Linked DNA regions of Homo sapiens: all the other regions are linked to region 3. Evidence: promoter capture Hi-C in 16 types of primary human blood cells and fetal thymus (Javierre and others, 2016). All regions are on one chromosome and are shown on one strand. Each heading gives the region's core, a stretch centred on a gene start or on the middle of the fragment in contact. The rest is flanking DNA. Distances are from core to core; before and after follow the strand shown. Region 1 holds the start of ACAA2 (acetyl-CoA acyltransferase 2). Region 2 holds the start of DYM (dymeclin). Region 3 holds the start of MEX3C (mex-3 RNA binding family member C). Region 4 overlaps C18orf32 (chromosome 18 open reading frame 32). Region 5 overlaps LINC02837 (long intergenic non-protein coding RNA 2837).

Region 1 (2,700 bases), core at 126-2,625, 1.4 Mb before region 3:
ACGTTGCAGGAAACTGTAAACACTGCATTTGGTCCCAGAATACGGATTTTTCCCTTGATTTGTTCCCATGCCACTTTGGTTCTTCTCACTTTCAGATCCCCCTAACCAATGCTTAGCTGGCATCTCCACTTGGCTGCTTCACAGGCACCAAAAAGTTTTCTGCCTAAAACTGAATTCTCAATCCTTCTTTCCACATCTATTCCTTTCCCAATTTTCCTCACTCTGTAAAGTGGCATCATCATGAACACGGTTCATCAAACCAGACACTTTTCATCATTCTCGACATTTCCTTCTTATATTTACTCCACCACATCCAATCCACTTTCTATCAAATCCACCTCCAAATCTATCTCAACTCATCCCTCCCCTTTTCTCCCCAATTACACTGCCCCACACGAGTCAAAGCCATCATTTGCTGCTCCCTGGACCTCTACAATAGATCCTTAAATGGTCTCTTCGCCATTACACAGACCGCCCCAAATTCGGACAGAGTGGAAATCAGATCCTGTCATTACCCCGCTTTAAATCCCTGTATTGCCTTCCACTGAATTTGGAACAAAACCCCACCTTCTTACAGAGCCCACAGGGCCCTGGAGCACCAAAATGCTTGGTTCTTAGATCCTGCCAAGCTTTTTCCTGTCTCAGGGCCTCGATATGTATTCCACCTCAATGTTCTTCGACTCGTACATCCTTAAAGTAAGATTCCATTGACTGTGCCCACTTGTTTTGAAAAGGGAGTTTATTACACAGTTGTTTTAAACAAGTTCATAACCCTAGAACTTAGGTATAGAGTGACCGCTCTAATCTAAAGCAACAGAAGGGAAATGGGAGCAGGGCAGGTCTTCCAGCAGAACACCAGCTACCATTTCTGCAGGCCTCTCCATCGATTCACCCGGGGAGCCCTGACCACCGAGGCCGAGCGGCGGGCTCCTGTGCGCAGCTGCCCCGCAGCAGGCGCCCGCGGCCTATGGCGCCGCCCCATTTTTTCTAATACTTGGACTCGAACTAGTGGGGTCACTGTTAGGCGAAGAAAGGAATGACCTCCAAGGTCACATGCAAGCAAACTTTGGTCTCAACTAAACAGGAAATTGCACCGAAATCGCTGTCGCTAGCGCCTTACAAGTAAGGGTTTTCTCCTTAACCCAAACAAGCCTTTCGGGCTGGGTTTTTATCACGTCCGCTCCAAAACCGAGGAGGTTGAGTGAACTTCACCCCACGACCCCGACTCTCCGCGGCGGCCGGAAGCGGAGGCCTGGCCTGGGGAGGGCAGGACCCCGAGGGGCGAGGAGAGGAGGAGGGGGCTGCGCTCACCTCGGAGCAGAGCCATGGCGGCTGCTGGGTCGTCGGCGGCGCGGGTCTGTGGTGTGGGGGACGCTGAGCGGCCGCTCGCAATCACCCAGATTTCAAGAGCGTGGGTGGCGCCCCGAGAGCCACGCCCCTGCCCTTTCACCTACTTCCTGGGGCTCCTTGGCGGGGTCCCAGCGTAAGATGGTCCTACCCCACGCGTAGCGCTGCCCGCCTCACCCCAGCCCGAGGGAGCCCAGGGGACGGGGCTCGGATAGACCACAACGCGCCTTGAGAGCGGACTCTTTCCTCACATCCTCATTTTTAGATTTTCTCCGTTTCCAAACCGAGAGAATTTGGTTTGACACCTCTCACCCATCATATCCTAGCCCCGACAGGCGATGACTCTTCCCCTTTGTCTCCGCCAACACCCTAAACACTGGGCAGGAGCCAAGGGCTGAGGAACTTGGCGCGCGGGCGGCCGCGGCCGCCAGCTGGGGGCGGGACCGAACGTCCTGTGGGCGGGGCGCGGCGGCGGCGGCGGGATTGGCTGGGGCGGGCGGGTGCGCAGTCCGCTGGGCAGAGGCTTGGGCCGCCGAGCTGGACCCGGACCGGTTTTGGGTACTGTACTGGGGGCAGGGCAGAGAGGTGGGCGGCAGTTGGGGTGCGGTGATTGTAGTAGGCTAGGGCGCTTTCGGGTCCCCATTGCAGCCCCCGGATGAGCCCGCAGTATTTTCCTTATATGATCAGGTCCCATTGCGGGCGGCGCCGCTTGCCCGGAGCCTGAGAGGATTATGAAAACGTGGCGAGCGAAATGGGGCCAGGGGACCTGGAGCAGGGGCGTGAGGAGAGTAGGCAGCGGGTGAGGCTGGACGGGAGGGAGGTCTAGGGAGGCCTCTGCCGCGGGCACTGTGAGTCCTGGCCGATGATGACGAGACCACTGCGCAATCTGAGTTCTGGGAACCAGGTGATGGAGTATGTTCTGAGAACAGACTGAGGCCGGGCAAGCAGGAGGCGGCCGCGGCAGGGGAGAGGCGGAGAGCCCCTCGATACCAGGGCTCGGAGGGCCGGGCTGCCTAGCGAGGGCTTCTTTTGAGTGCGTAGGGGTGGTGGGTGGCATGGACGGTTTCTCTGAGTCGTCAGCGAATGCCCCCCCTAGAATCCTGCTTTTCAAACACTTTGGTGACACTCTTGCAATGTTGGGGTGTTTTTAAATCCAAATTTGTATTATGAAAACTTACAAACTTACAGAAAAGTGGGAAGACTTGTACAGTGGACACATATCGACCCAATTGTTAACATTTTGCTATATTGCTATCCACCTGTTCTTCCATCAAACCATCTTATCTTTTTAATGCAGACCTTAGTACTCTACACCCATGAACACATCAGCACACATTATTCATTTACAGTTCT
Region 2 (2,700 bases), core at 111-2,610, 1.7 Mb before region 3:
TCATTTACAGAATGGGAATATTCATACTTGTCCGGTCTATCTCCAAGTTGCTGAGAGGATTATCTAAAATAAAACTTCAAAGCAGGATAATCACTCCAGAAATCCATATATTCATAAATTTCATCCTCTGCAACAACCATTCACCCATTCCTATAGATTCTCTTCCCTTCCACCTCGTTCTTCTCTTGAGCCCTCAACTCATCAGCCTAAGCACCTGAGTTCCTCTGGTGGACGCTACATTCCTCTCCACGGCCTCCACCCTCCAGGTTTTCATCCTTCAGCACATCACCCTTGCTCTACACACCCCTCTCTCCAACTTCCCCTCTCCTCTTTCAAGGAACTCACTCCATCTGTGCCCCCTAATCAGTCTATCCTGGGTACCCGCTTTGCTGGCCGATTACAATCATCCCATCACTTCTCTACCCCTGTTCAGTAGAGAACAGCTTTATCCAATCAGCTTTACCACACCAATACCCTCAAACCCCACTACTGCCCCCAGTTCACAAACACCCACCCTTTCACTTTTCAGTCAAAACACAATTGCTCAGGCAAATCCACGGCGACTGAAAGTAGATCAATAGTGTAGGGGAGAGAAGGAGGAGTGACTGCTAATGGGTACGAGCTTCTTTGGGGCGGGGGGGGCGGTGATTAAAAATGCTCTGGAGTTAAGGGTGGTGATGGCTGCTCAACCCTGTGAATATACTAAAAACCACTGAGTTGTACTTTTAAAGGGTTAATTTTCTGATATGTTAGTTATACCTCGATAAACTATGAATGTAAAAAGAAGAAAGAAAAACCCAACAGCTATTGCTCACCCTGCCCATCACACGCCCATTTGTCAGACCAACACCGCCCCATCTCCGGAAGCACCGACTTGGCCTTCGGTATCCCCCAACTCCCAACAGCGGACTCGGACAGAGGTCCGTCCGCTGTCAGCACAGCCCCTCCGGGTGGCCCAGGCGCCCGCGGGCAGGGAAGGGAGGGTCCCTTCGCCGCCGCCCCGGGGCGCTGGCCGGGTTGCGGAGGGTGGCCCCTGACCCCCTCTGACAGGAGGCCGGGGACAGCCAGGCTTTCGGGCCCGGCCGCGCTGAGGGGGGCGGCGCTACAGCCCACCTGTCTCAGCCGGCTGGGGGATCTGCTCCAGCTCCACGGACCCGCGGACGGATGGGAGGGTGGCAGAGGGGTCAGGAGAAGTCGCTGTCGCCGCCGCAGCCCAGGTGGCGCACACCGGCTCAGGCCTCCATGTTTCCACGTCTCAGCGGGTACAGATCCGGCTCCGGTCCGGCCTGCAGCTCGGCCCCGGCTCGGCTCCAGCCCGGGCCGCGTCGGTGCGGAGGCCAGGAGGCGGCGAGAGAAGAGGGAAGCGACCGAGAACGCGGCTAGGGACCAGACCCCCAGGCGCGCGCGCCAGCCAGGTGGTCACGTGGCACGCGGCGCGCGCGGGCTTCTGGAAACTGTAGTCCTTTGGGTGTTATTCGTGCCTCCGCCCTCCTAGTACCTCCTGGGCTACCGCAAAGCCACGTGGCGAAATCGAGAAGCGCAAAAACAGCCGTGCGCGGTGGCTCACGCCTGTAATCCCAGCACTTTAGGAGGCCGAGGTGGACGGATCACGAGGTCAGGAGATCGAGACCATCCTGGCCAGCATGGTGAAACCCCGTCTCCACTAAAAATACAAAAAGTAGCTGTTTGAGACAGGATAATCGTTTGAACCCGAGAGGCGGAGATTGCAGTGAGTCAAAAAGTAGCTGTCTGAGGCAGGAGAATCGTTTGAACCCGAGAGGCGGAGATTGCAGTGAGTCGAGATCGGGCCACTGCACTCCAGCCTTGCGACAGAGCTCGACTCTTCTCAAAAAAAAAAAAAGAGAGAGAGAGAGAAGCGCAAAAACCTCACCTGCCGGGTGCTAGAGTCAACCTCACCTGCCAGGTGCTAGAGTCCTCGCTCATGCTACACCGCTCGTTCTGGCGGCTTAACCTTATTAAGGCCTCTGTTAATTGCAGCTGAATAACCATCCCAAAGTCAAGCAATATTGTGTGGGATTCTGGAGAATTGAGAAATAGCAAAATAATTTTTGATGGAGGCAGCTGGCAGGGCTAGCCCTGCCTGCAAAGTTGTCGGAAAGGACAGGTCCCACGGGAAAGAGTAGCAATATGAGATAGTGCCAAAACTATGGAATTTGAAGTCAAATGAGCTGAGGTTTCCACACTGACGTCTTTGAGCAATTACTTCACCTCTCTCAGCCAGTTTCCTCACCTAAAATATATGCATGATGATGATTCTGCCATTACAGGAAATGTTGACATGACTGTAGTAATAACAATTCACATTATGGATTATTTTCTATTTGCCATGCACTATTATTTCGCAAAATGACCCTATGGAACAGATAGCACCGTTATTCCCATTATATAGTCAATATGTGCCAGTGTACTCTGTAAAGTACTATACAAATATTAGGTATTCTTTTCTAGCATAGACTGCCAGTAAATTCACTGAGCTTGCAGAATTATGACAGGAAAACATATTAAAACCCAAAGTAGACTGGGCCCTGTGGCTTATGCCTGTAATCCCAATACTTTGGGAGGCTAAGGTGGGAGGATCACTTGAGCCCAGGAGTTCGGAAGGACCAGCCTGAGCAACATAGCGATACACTGTCTCAACAAAAAATACAAAAATTAGCTGGGAGTGGTTGGCACACCCTC
Region 3 (2,700 bases), core at 142-2,641:
GTGTTCCACGAATACAGCCCAAGTAACGTGAACACCACCGGACTGGGTCGCCCGAGAAACTTCACACTTTTTACCAGGCAAGACGGGCGGAAAAGCGTGGGTTTTCGCAAGGTGACCCATCTTCACATCTGGTCGACCCTCGGCTCCTCCCAGACCCCTTCGCGGTGGACTTGGGGGCCTCGCCGGGTTCGCCTTTTCCGTCCCACGCTCCTTTCTCTCGTCTCCCCACCCACGCCCGGGGCCATGCCCAGCTGGACCTCCCCACCCCTGCACTCACCCTGGCGGCCGACGATCTCGGCGACGTGCTCGGAGCTGGGCACCGGGACGCACTCGGTGGTGTTGACGCTCTTTCTCCGGAGCAGGGCCGCCTGCTCCCCGTTCAGGGCGGCCGCCGCCGCCCCACAACCGCCGGGGCCGTAGGCGTGGGACAGCATCGCCGCCATCATGCCCTGGGCATCGTCCCCTCCGTACAGCACCCCCGCCGCCGCCGCCGCGGCCGCCGCCTCCCGGGCATCGAACCTGGCGGCTGGCAGCAGCACAGACCCCAGGGACCCGCCCGGGATCTGCTGGGTCTGAGAGGCGGTGGCCGCGGGCGGCGACAGCAGCAGCAGCGACGACCGGTCCTCCTCCTCTGCTTCCTCCAGCTCCTCCTCCTCCAGCAGGTCTCCGTCCAGCTCCGCTTCCTCCCCCTCCTCCTCGTCCTCTTCCAGCTCCAGCTCGGCCGCCTCCGGGGCCCCGGGCCGGCCGGGCGGAGCCCGCTCCTCTGGAGACAGCTCCGCCGCCCGCCGGGCCTGGCCCTGCGCCGCCGCTGCCGGGGCCCGAAGCGCCGGGGCGCCGGGCTCCGCCGGGCTGGGGTCGTCGAGGCCTAGCGCGGCCAAGCGCTCCCTCAGCAGGAGCCCGTCCCCCTCGAGCTCCGGGCCGCCCGAGGGCGGCGGCAGAGGCGGCGGTGGCGGCGGCGGCGGCGGGGGCGGCTGCGGCAGGGGGGCCGGGGCCGCCGCCAGGGCCAGGGCCGCGGAGCTGCCGCTGGGCATCGCGGCGGCGCGCTGTCAATGGCGGCGGCGGCGGCCGGGTCAGGCGCGGCAGGCGGCGAGCCCCATGGCGGACAGGGCCAGGGCCCTGCTCAGCTCGCAAACACCTTTCCTCTGGGGAGGCGGCGGGGCTGGGGACCCGGGCCGAGGAGCGCCAGGGCCGCCCGGAGACCGGAGAGGGCGGGGTGGAGGGGCAGGGGAAGGAGGCAGAGGTAGGTAACTAGGTGGGTGGGTGGGGACGGCGGCGGGGCGGGCTGGTGGAGGTGGCAGCGGCTCCCCTCTCAGTGTTTCTTTTGTTTCATGGCCTTAACCAGCCCCCGGCGCGCGCGGCGGCGGCGGCTACGCCCCACGCCGCTCTCCGAATGAAGCCGGCGCGCTCTGATTGGGTGCTTTTAATCTCTGGGAGCCCGCCTTCTCCTCCCGCAGCCTTCCAACTCCTTTCCCCAGCCCCACCCCCCACCCTCCTTCGGGCCCCGCCCCTCCCCTCCCCAGAGCTCTCTGATTGGGTGACCGGGACCAGCCAGTTCCCGAAGCCTACTCCTTCCGTCCTCTCCCCGCCCACCTCCCTCTCATTCCTCCCGGCACGCGCGGAGAGGGACTGTGATTGTTCACTTTACACGTCACTCTTTGTGACGTCCCCGGCGGGGGCGGGAAAAAGGAGGCGGACGAAGGCGCTGCAGCAGAGGCTGAAACTAAGGGCCAAGCGGGGTTTTGGCGCAGGCGCGTGCGGTCGAAGCGCACACCTGGATTTGTTTCCCCCCAACCCTTCATCCCTGTAGCCCATGTGGCTGAGTTCTTTTAGGGAAGGCACTGTGTGAGCGGCCTGGAGCAGAGCTGCAGGCATAGGTTCGAGAGCATTGTTTCCTTGGGTTGAGGAAGAGATCGCCCCCTTCAGAGGAAGGGCCTTAAGAAGAGTCACGGAAGGAGGGGCCACGCAGTATCCTCCTATCCCCTCGCGGGGGCGGTTTCCTGAGCCGCGTGGCTCCCGGGCCTTCCCTCTCGGACTCGGGAATGCTCCTCCCACGCCCCGCTGGCCCGGCTTCTCTGCCGGCAGGATGGTTACATCAGCAGCCTGGAGGTGCTGAAGTTTAGCTCTTCGGGGTTTTTTGTTTTTTTTTTTTAAACGGAGTCCAGCTCTGTCGCCCAGGCTGGAGTGCAGTGGTGCGATCTTGGCTCACTGCAACCTCCGCCTCCCGGGCTCAAGAGCTTCCCCTTGCAGTGGCTCACGCCTGTAATGCCAGCACTTTGAGAGGCTCAGGCGGGCGGATCACGAGGTCAGGTCAGGAGTTCGAGACCAGCCTGATCAACATGGTGAAACCCCGTCTCTACTAAAAATACAGAAATTAGCCGGGCATGGTGGCGCACGCCTGTAATCCCAACTACTCGGGAGGCGGAGGCAGGAGAATCGCTTGAACCCGGGAGGTGGAGGTTGCAGTGAGCCAAGATCATGCCACTGCACTCCAGCCTGGGCGACAGAGCGAAACTGCGTCTCAAAAAAAAAAAAAAAAAAAAAAGAGTTTCTCCTGTCTCAGCCTCCCGAGTAGCTGGGATTACAGGCACGTGCCACCACGCCCAGCTAACTTTTGTATTTTTAGTAGAGACGGGGTTTCACCATGTTGGCCAGGCTGGTCTCGAACTCCTGACCTCAAGTGATACGCCCGCCTCGCCCTCC
Region 4 (2,700 bases), core at 13-2,512, 1.7 Mb before region 3:
AGCTCAGACAATCCGCCTGCCTCGGCCTCCCAAAGTGCTGAGATTACAGGCGTGAGCCACCGTGCCCGGCGCCTTTTCCTCTTCTTATAAAAGCTTCCAGTTCTACTCCTATGATAACCCGTTAAATCTATTAACCCACTAATCCATTAATCCATGAGTGAATGAATCTATTCATGAGGGCAGGGCCCTCATGACCCAATTACCTTTTAAAGGCCCTACCTCTCACTACTGCCACATTGGGGATTAAATTTCAACATGAGTTTTGGAGCGGACATTCAAACCAAAGAACCCATAGTCTTTGCTTCTTTATTAAGGAGCTGTCGCCATGTCAATAAATTTAGCTTTGAGGTTAGAACAAGCAAGTAGCTCCCTGTGGAGGAAACCATAAGAAAACTTCCATTTCCTCTTTGATTACGACTGAACTAGACTTAAGATCAGTCTCTGCGCCAGGCGCAGTGGTTCATGCCTGTAGTCCCAGCTACTCGGGAGGCTGAGACAAGAAGATCACTTCAGCCCAGGAGTTTGAGCCTGCAGTGAGCTATGATTGCGCCACTGCACTCCAGCCTGGGCAACAGAGTGAGACTCTGTCTCTAAAAAATAATAACAAATGAAAAGATCAGCGGTTGGAGTTTCTTTTTAATCCAGGCATTCTGTCAACATGCCAGTTCTGAATGGTCACTTTAAGGAAGTGCTGAGTCACCTATGTTTCCTAAGAAGGCAGCCTAGTAATGGAAAAAAAAAAAAAAAAGTGATGAAACCCAAGTTTTAGCCTCAAGTAATTACCTGAGAAAATGAGTCTAACTCATAAAATGAGACGGGAAATGCAGTTAAAATTCATAAAGCAAAAATAAGTTGTTGAAAAGTAGGTAAATTAAAAACTCAAGATACAAGGTTAGCAAAATTAACTTTATTATTATTTATTTGAAACGGGGTATTGCTCTGTTGTCCTGGCTGGAGTACAGTGGTGTGATCTTGGCTCACTGCAACTTCCGCCTCCTGGACTTAAGCGATCCTCTCACCTCAGCCTCCAGAAACTTTAAAACAAGTTCACACATACTGATTAATCTAAACTCACCCTCTCCATTTCTGCCTAATTATTCCCAATAAGGTATTACTAACAATTAAGATATTAGTAGCTGTGGCAGCCGGGCCCAGTGCTTATGCCTGTGATCCCAGCACTTTGGGAGGCCAAGGCAGGCAGATCACTGGAGGTTGGGAGTTTGAGACCAGCCTGACCAACGTGGTGAAACCCCGTCTCTACTAAAGTACAAAATTAGCCGGGTGTGGTAGCACGCACCTGTAATCCCAGCTACTTGGGAGGCTGAGGCAGAATCGCTTGAACCTGGGAGGAGGAGGTTGTGGTGAGCAGAGATTGCACCATTGCACTGCAGCCTGGGCAACAAGAGCGAAACTCCATCTTCCAAAAACAAACAAACAAACAAAAATATATATATATACACACACTATATATATATACACATATATATATATACACACACTATATATATACACACTATATATATACACTATATATATATACACTATATGTATATACACTATATATATATACACACTATATATATATATACACTATATATATATGTAGCTGTGATGGCTCCTTAGCATGAAAGTATGACCTTGAAATCTTAGACTTGTCATTTACATATTTAAACTCCATTATTCTTTTTTTCTTTTTTTAAGACAGGGTCTTGCTCTGTTGTCCAAGCTAGAGTGCAGTGGCTTGATCACAGCTCACTGTAGCCTTTAACCTCCTGGGTTCAAGCAATCCTCCCACCTCAGCCTCCAGAGTAGCTGGGACCACAGGTGCACATCACCATATGCCTAGCTAAATTTTTTAATTTTTGGTGGAGGCGAGGTCTCCCTATGTTGCCCAGGCTGGGATCCTGTTTTTCTTTTTCTTTTCTTTTGAGACAGTCTTGCTCTGTCACCTAGGCTGGAGTGCAGTGGTACAATTTCAGCTCACTGCAACCTCTGCCTCCTGGTTTCAAACGATTCTCATGCCTCAGCCTCTGGAGTAGCTGGGATTACAGGTGTGTACCACTATGCCCGACTAATTTTTGTATTTTTAGTAGAGACAGGGTTTCACCATGTTGGCCAGGCTGGTCTTGAACTCCCGGCCTCAAGTGATCCTCCCACCTCGGCCTCCCAAAGTGCTGGGATTATAGGCTTGAGTCACCGCCTCCGGTGGATCCTGTTTTCTTGACTGTATTTCAGGTTTATGCAGACCAGGTAGGTTTGTGTGTGTGAAACACCCATGAACAGTGCAGGTACAATGTGTTTAACAAAGGGTAGCTCTTACTAAAAAGGCAGCCCTGACCTTTACACAGACAGATGTTGATATTTTAGGGCAAAGAAACATTTGTGTGGTATCAAACAGTGGCTACCAACTCCAGCCCATGGATAACTGATAAAAGCTTTTAACAATTAGCCTCCAAAATAAGAAAAATATGAACAAAATAGTGAATTTTTCATAAAATTAACACTTTTCATACGCTTATTCAAACTGATGGCTATTTTTGTCCACTATTCCCATGTTCTTTTTCACTCTTCTGGTGTCAAACTGTCTTTTACGAAATACTGGTAATAAATTGTAGCTTTTTGATATACTCCTGCTTGGAAAAATCAAAAGTTGGCAATTGCATACTAGCCACCCCTATCCTGCTTTTAAAATGTTGCTAG
Region 5 (2,700 bases), core at 29-2,528, 1.7 Mb before region 3:
CCGCCTGGCTGTCTCTCCCTTACCTCCCAGAGTTAGGGTAATAGCTGACATTTTTCTTCACTAGGCTTTCCTAAGGGATTTCATTCCATTTGTGAGACACTTTAATTCCTGAAGCTGCAAAGTTTGCTTTTTATTACTATAGCTCTACTTATTCTGCATAATTTTATTTATTATTTGTTTATGTATTTATTTTTTGAGACAGAGTCTCGCTGTGTTGCCCAGGCTGGAGTGCAGTGGCGCCATCTCAGCTCACTGCAACCTCTGCCTCCTGGGTTCAAGCAATTCTCCTTCCTCAGTCTCCTGAGCAGCTGGGACTACAGGCACGTGCTACCACGCCCAGCTAAGTTTTGTATTTTTAGTAGAGACGAGGTTTCATCATATTGGCCAGGCTGGTCTCGAACTCCTGACCTTGTGATCCACCTGCCTCAGCCTCCCAAAGTGCTGGGATTACAGGCGTGAGCCACCACGCCTGGCTTATTCTGCATAATTTTTAAGAGTTGTGAATTGTTTTAAGATCAAATTTAAAAGTACATTTTCTTTCTTATCTTGTCATTAACTGATGTTGGGTATGTGTGTGTGCTTGTGATTTCCCTGGCTGGACCAGTGTATAACTTCAAAGAGGGCTGGTGCCTTGCCTTTAGTCTGCTGGATAGCACTCCTCCAGACCCTCCCTTTGCTGAGCAGCTCCGTGGACCTGTGCAAATCTCTACCCAGCTTTGTTGGACAACAAAATACCCTGGAGAATATCAAGCCCTTTAACATACCCAGTTTGTGCTCCCAGACGTAAGATCTCTTTGGCCATGTATGTGGGATTCCCATGAAGGAGAAGCTTCATTTCCAGCAAGAATCTGGCTTCCACCTAGACTTGGGAAACAGATACTGAAAAGCATATTGCTGATCAACTAGACAACCTACTTCCACTCTTGATTGCCCCTGTAATCCATCTAGAACAGCCAGAGCAATTTATTTATTAAAAAATTTAAAATTGGCCAGGTGCGGTGGCTCACGCTTGTATCCCCAGCACTTTGGGAGGCCGGGGTGGCAGATCACTTGAGGCCAGGAGTTAAGATCAGCCCGGCCAACATGGTGAAACCCTGTCTTTACTAAAAATAGAAAAAGTTGCCAGGCAAGATGCCTTACGCCTGTAATCCCAGCACTTTGGGAGGCCAAGGCAGGTGGATCACGAGGTCAGGAGATGGAGATTATCTTGGCTAACACGGTGAAACCCCATCTCTCTCTACTAAAAATACAAAAAATTAGCCGGGCATGGTGGCACACGCCTGTAGTCCCAGCTACTTGGGAGGCTGAGGCAGGAGCATGGCTTGAACCTGGGAGGCGGAGGTTGCAGTGAGCCGAGATCGCACCACTGCACTCCAGTCTGGGTGACAGAGCGAGTCTCTGTCTCAAAAAAAAAAAAGAAAAAGAAAAAAGAAAAGAAAAGAAAAAATTAGCCGGGCATGGTGGTGCGTGCCTGTAATCCCAGGTACTCGGGAGGCTGAGGCAGGAGAATCTCTTGAACCCGGGAGGCAGATGTTGCAGTGAGCCAAGATCGCACCATTGCACTCCAGCCTGGGTGACAGAGTGACTCCATCTCAATAAATAAATAAATAATAAGTAAAATTTTAAAATTATTCAAAAATTTAAGATTATTTATATGTGTTTTATAGAAAGTCAGATATAGCAGGTAAGCAGATTAAGAAAATAAAATCCTTATATTTCCAAAAGATTAAGCTTTAATATATCCTTCTAGTATAGTGTGAGATATATACTTCATGTGTGTATGTATATACATATATACTTACCAGGTGAAATTATACTGTACATGCTATTTCATAATCAGATTTTTTTCCAGTTAATCTCAATTTTACCATGTTGATACATTTTCATCTCTTCTAATACCTAACCTCAATTTCAGTTATCCCAGTTGTTCCCCAAATGTCCTTTCCAGTTGGTTTGTTCAAAGCAAGACCCGCCAGGCACACTGACTCACACCTGTAATCCCAGCACTTTGGGAAGCTGAGGCAGGCAGATCACTTGAGGCCAGGAGTTCGAAACCAGCTTGGCCAACATGGTGAATCCCTGTCTCTACTAAAAATAGAAAAAATTAGCAGGGTGTGGTGGCACACACCTGTAGTCCCAGCTACTCTGGAGGCTGAGGCATGTGAATTGCTTGAAGCTGGGAGACAGAGGTTGCAGTGAGTTGAGATCATGTCACTACACTCCAGCCTGGGTGACAGAGCAAGGCTCTGTCTCAAACAAACAAACAAACAAACAAACCAACCAACCAAAGCAGCCACACACACACAAAAAAACCAGAAACAAAGCAAGACCCAATCTAGGTCCCACATGACATCTGGTTGTTGTTTCTTTTTATTTTATTTTTGAGACAGAGGCTTGCTGTCACCCAAGCTAGAGTGTATTGGCGCGATCTCGGCTCACTGCAACCTCTGCCTCCGGGGTTCAAGTGATTCTCCTGCCTCAGCCTCCTGAGTAGCTGGGATTACAGTCGCCCACCATCACGCCTGGCTAATTTTTGTATTTTTAGTACAGACTGGGTTTCACTATGTTGGCCAGGTTGGTCTTGAACTCCTGACCTCAGGTGATCTGCCCGTCTCGGCTTTCCAAAGTGTTGGGATTACAGGCATGAGCCACCGTGCCTGGCCAGGTTGTTCTCTTTCATAATCAGTTTTAGAATCAGAA

What was found. Contacts are between HindIII fragments. The CHiCAGO score rates a contact against its expected background, and 5 or more counts as called.
Region 1: the fragment with the promoter of ACAA2 here is called in contact with the fragment with the promoter of MEX3C in region 3 in 3 of 17 cell types (activated CD4 T cells, monocytes and non-activated CD4 T cells); the score reaches 7.1 in activated CD4 T cells.
Region 2: a contact is called between the fragment with the promoter of DYM here and the fragment with the promoter of MEX3C in region 3, in 1 of 17 cell types (neutrophils). The highest score is 6.5, in neutrophils.
Region 4: a contact is called between a fragment that was not itself captured here and the fragment with the promoter of MEX3C in region 3, in 1 of 17 cell types (neutrophils). The highest score is 5.2, in neutrophils.
Region 5: a fragment that was not itself captured here is called in contact with the fragment with the promoter of MEX3C in region 3 in 1 of 17 cell types (neutrophils); the score reaches 6.7 in neutrophils.

What each region holds. Positions count from the first base shown.
Region 1 is chr18:49,812,158-49,814,857 of GRCh38, forward strand. ACAA2 (acetyl-CoA acyltransferase 2) reads right to left here and starts at 1,376. Exons shown (of 10, transcript NM_006111.3): 1 at 1,312-1,376. The coding sequence starts at 1,327. SNHG22 (small nucleolar RNA host gene 22) reads left to right here and starts at 1,866. Exons shown (of 4, transcript NR_117096.1): 1 at 1,866-1,905. It also overlaps SCARNA17. RefSeq lists silencers at 1,169-1,288, 1,182-1,476, 1,719-1,888. The HindIII fragment of the contact is 2,119 bases long and covers 628-2,700 here.
Region 2 is chr18:49,459,285-49,461,984 of GRCh38, forward strand. DYM (dymeclin) reads right to left here and starts at 1,361. Exons shown (of 18, transcript NM_001353214.3): 1 at 1,114-1,361. RefSeq lists a silencer at 760-1,339. The HindIII fragment of the contact is 8,649 bases long and covers 1-2,700 here.
Region 3 is chr18:51,196,290-51,198,989 of GRCh38, forward strand. It overlaps MEX3C (mex-3 RNA binding family member C), which reads right to left and starts at 1,392. Exons shown (of 2, transcript NM_016626.5): 1 at 278-1,392. The coding sequence starts at 1,031. RefSeq lists enhancers at 1-17, 1,816-1,905 and silencers at 356-405, 426-475, 736-815, 956-1,065, 1,086-1,615. The HindIII fragment of the contact is 5,421 bases long and covers 1-2,700 here.
Region 4 is chr18:49,476,356-49,479,055 of GRCh38, forward strand. C18orf32 (chromosome 18 open reading frame 32) reads right to left here. Exons shown (of 3, transcript NM_001035005.4): 3 at 888-2,700. Among named protein-coding and RNA genes, the nearest start is that of C18orf32, 9.5 kb to the right of the region's middle. The HindIII fragment of the contact is 2,342 bases long and covers 92-2,433 here.
Region 5 is chr18:49,500,873-49,503,572 of GRCh38, forward strand. All of the region lies in intron 2 of LINC02837 (long intergenic non-protein coding RNA 2837), which reads left to right. Among named protein-coding and RNA genes, the nearest start is that of LINC02837, 2.8 kb to the left of the region's middle. The HindIII fragment of the contact is 902 bases long and covers 828-1,729 here.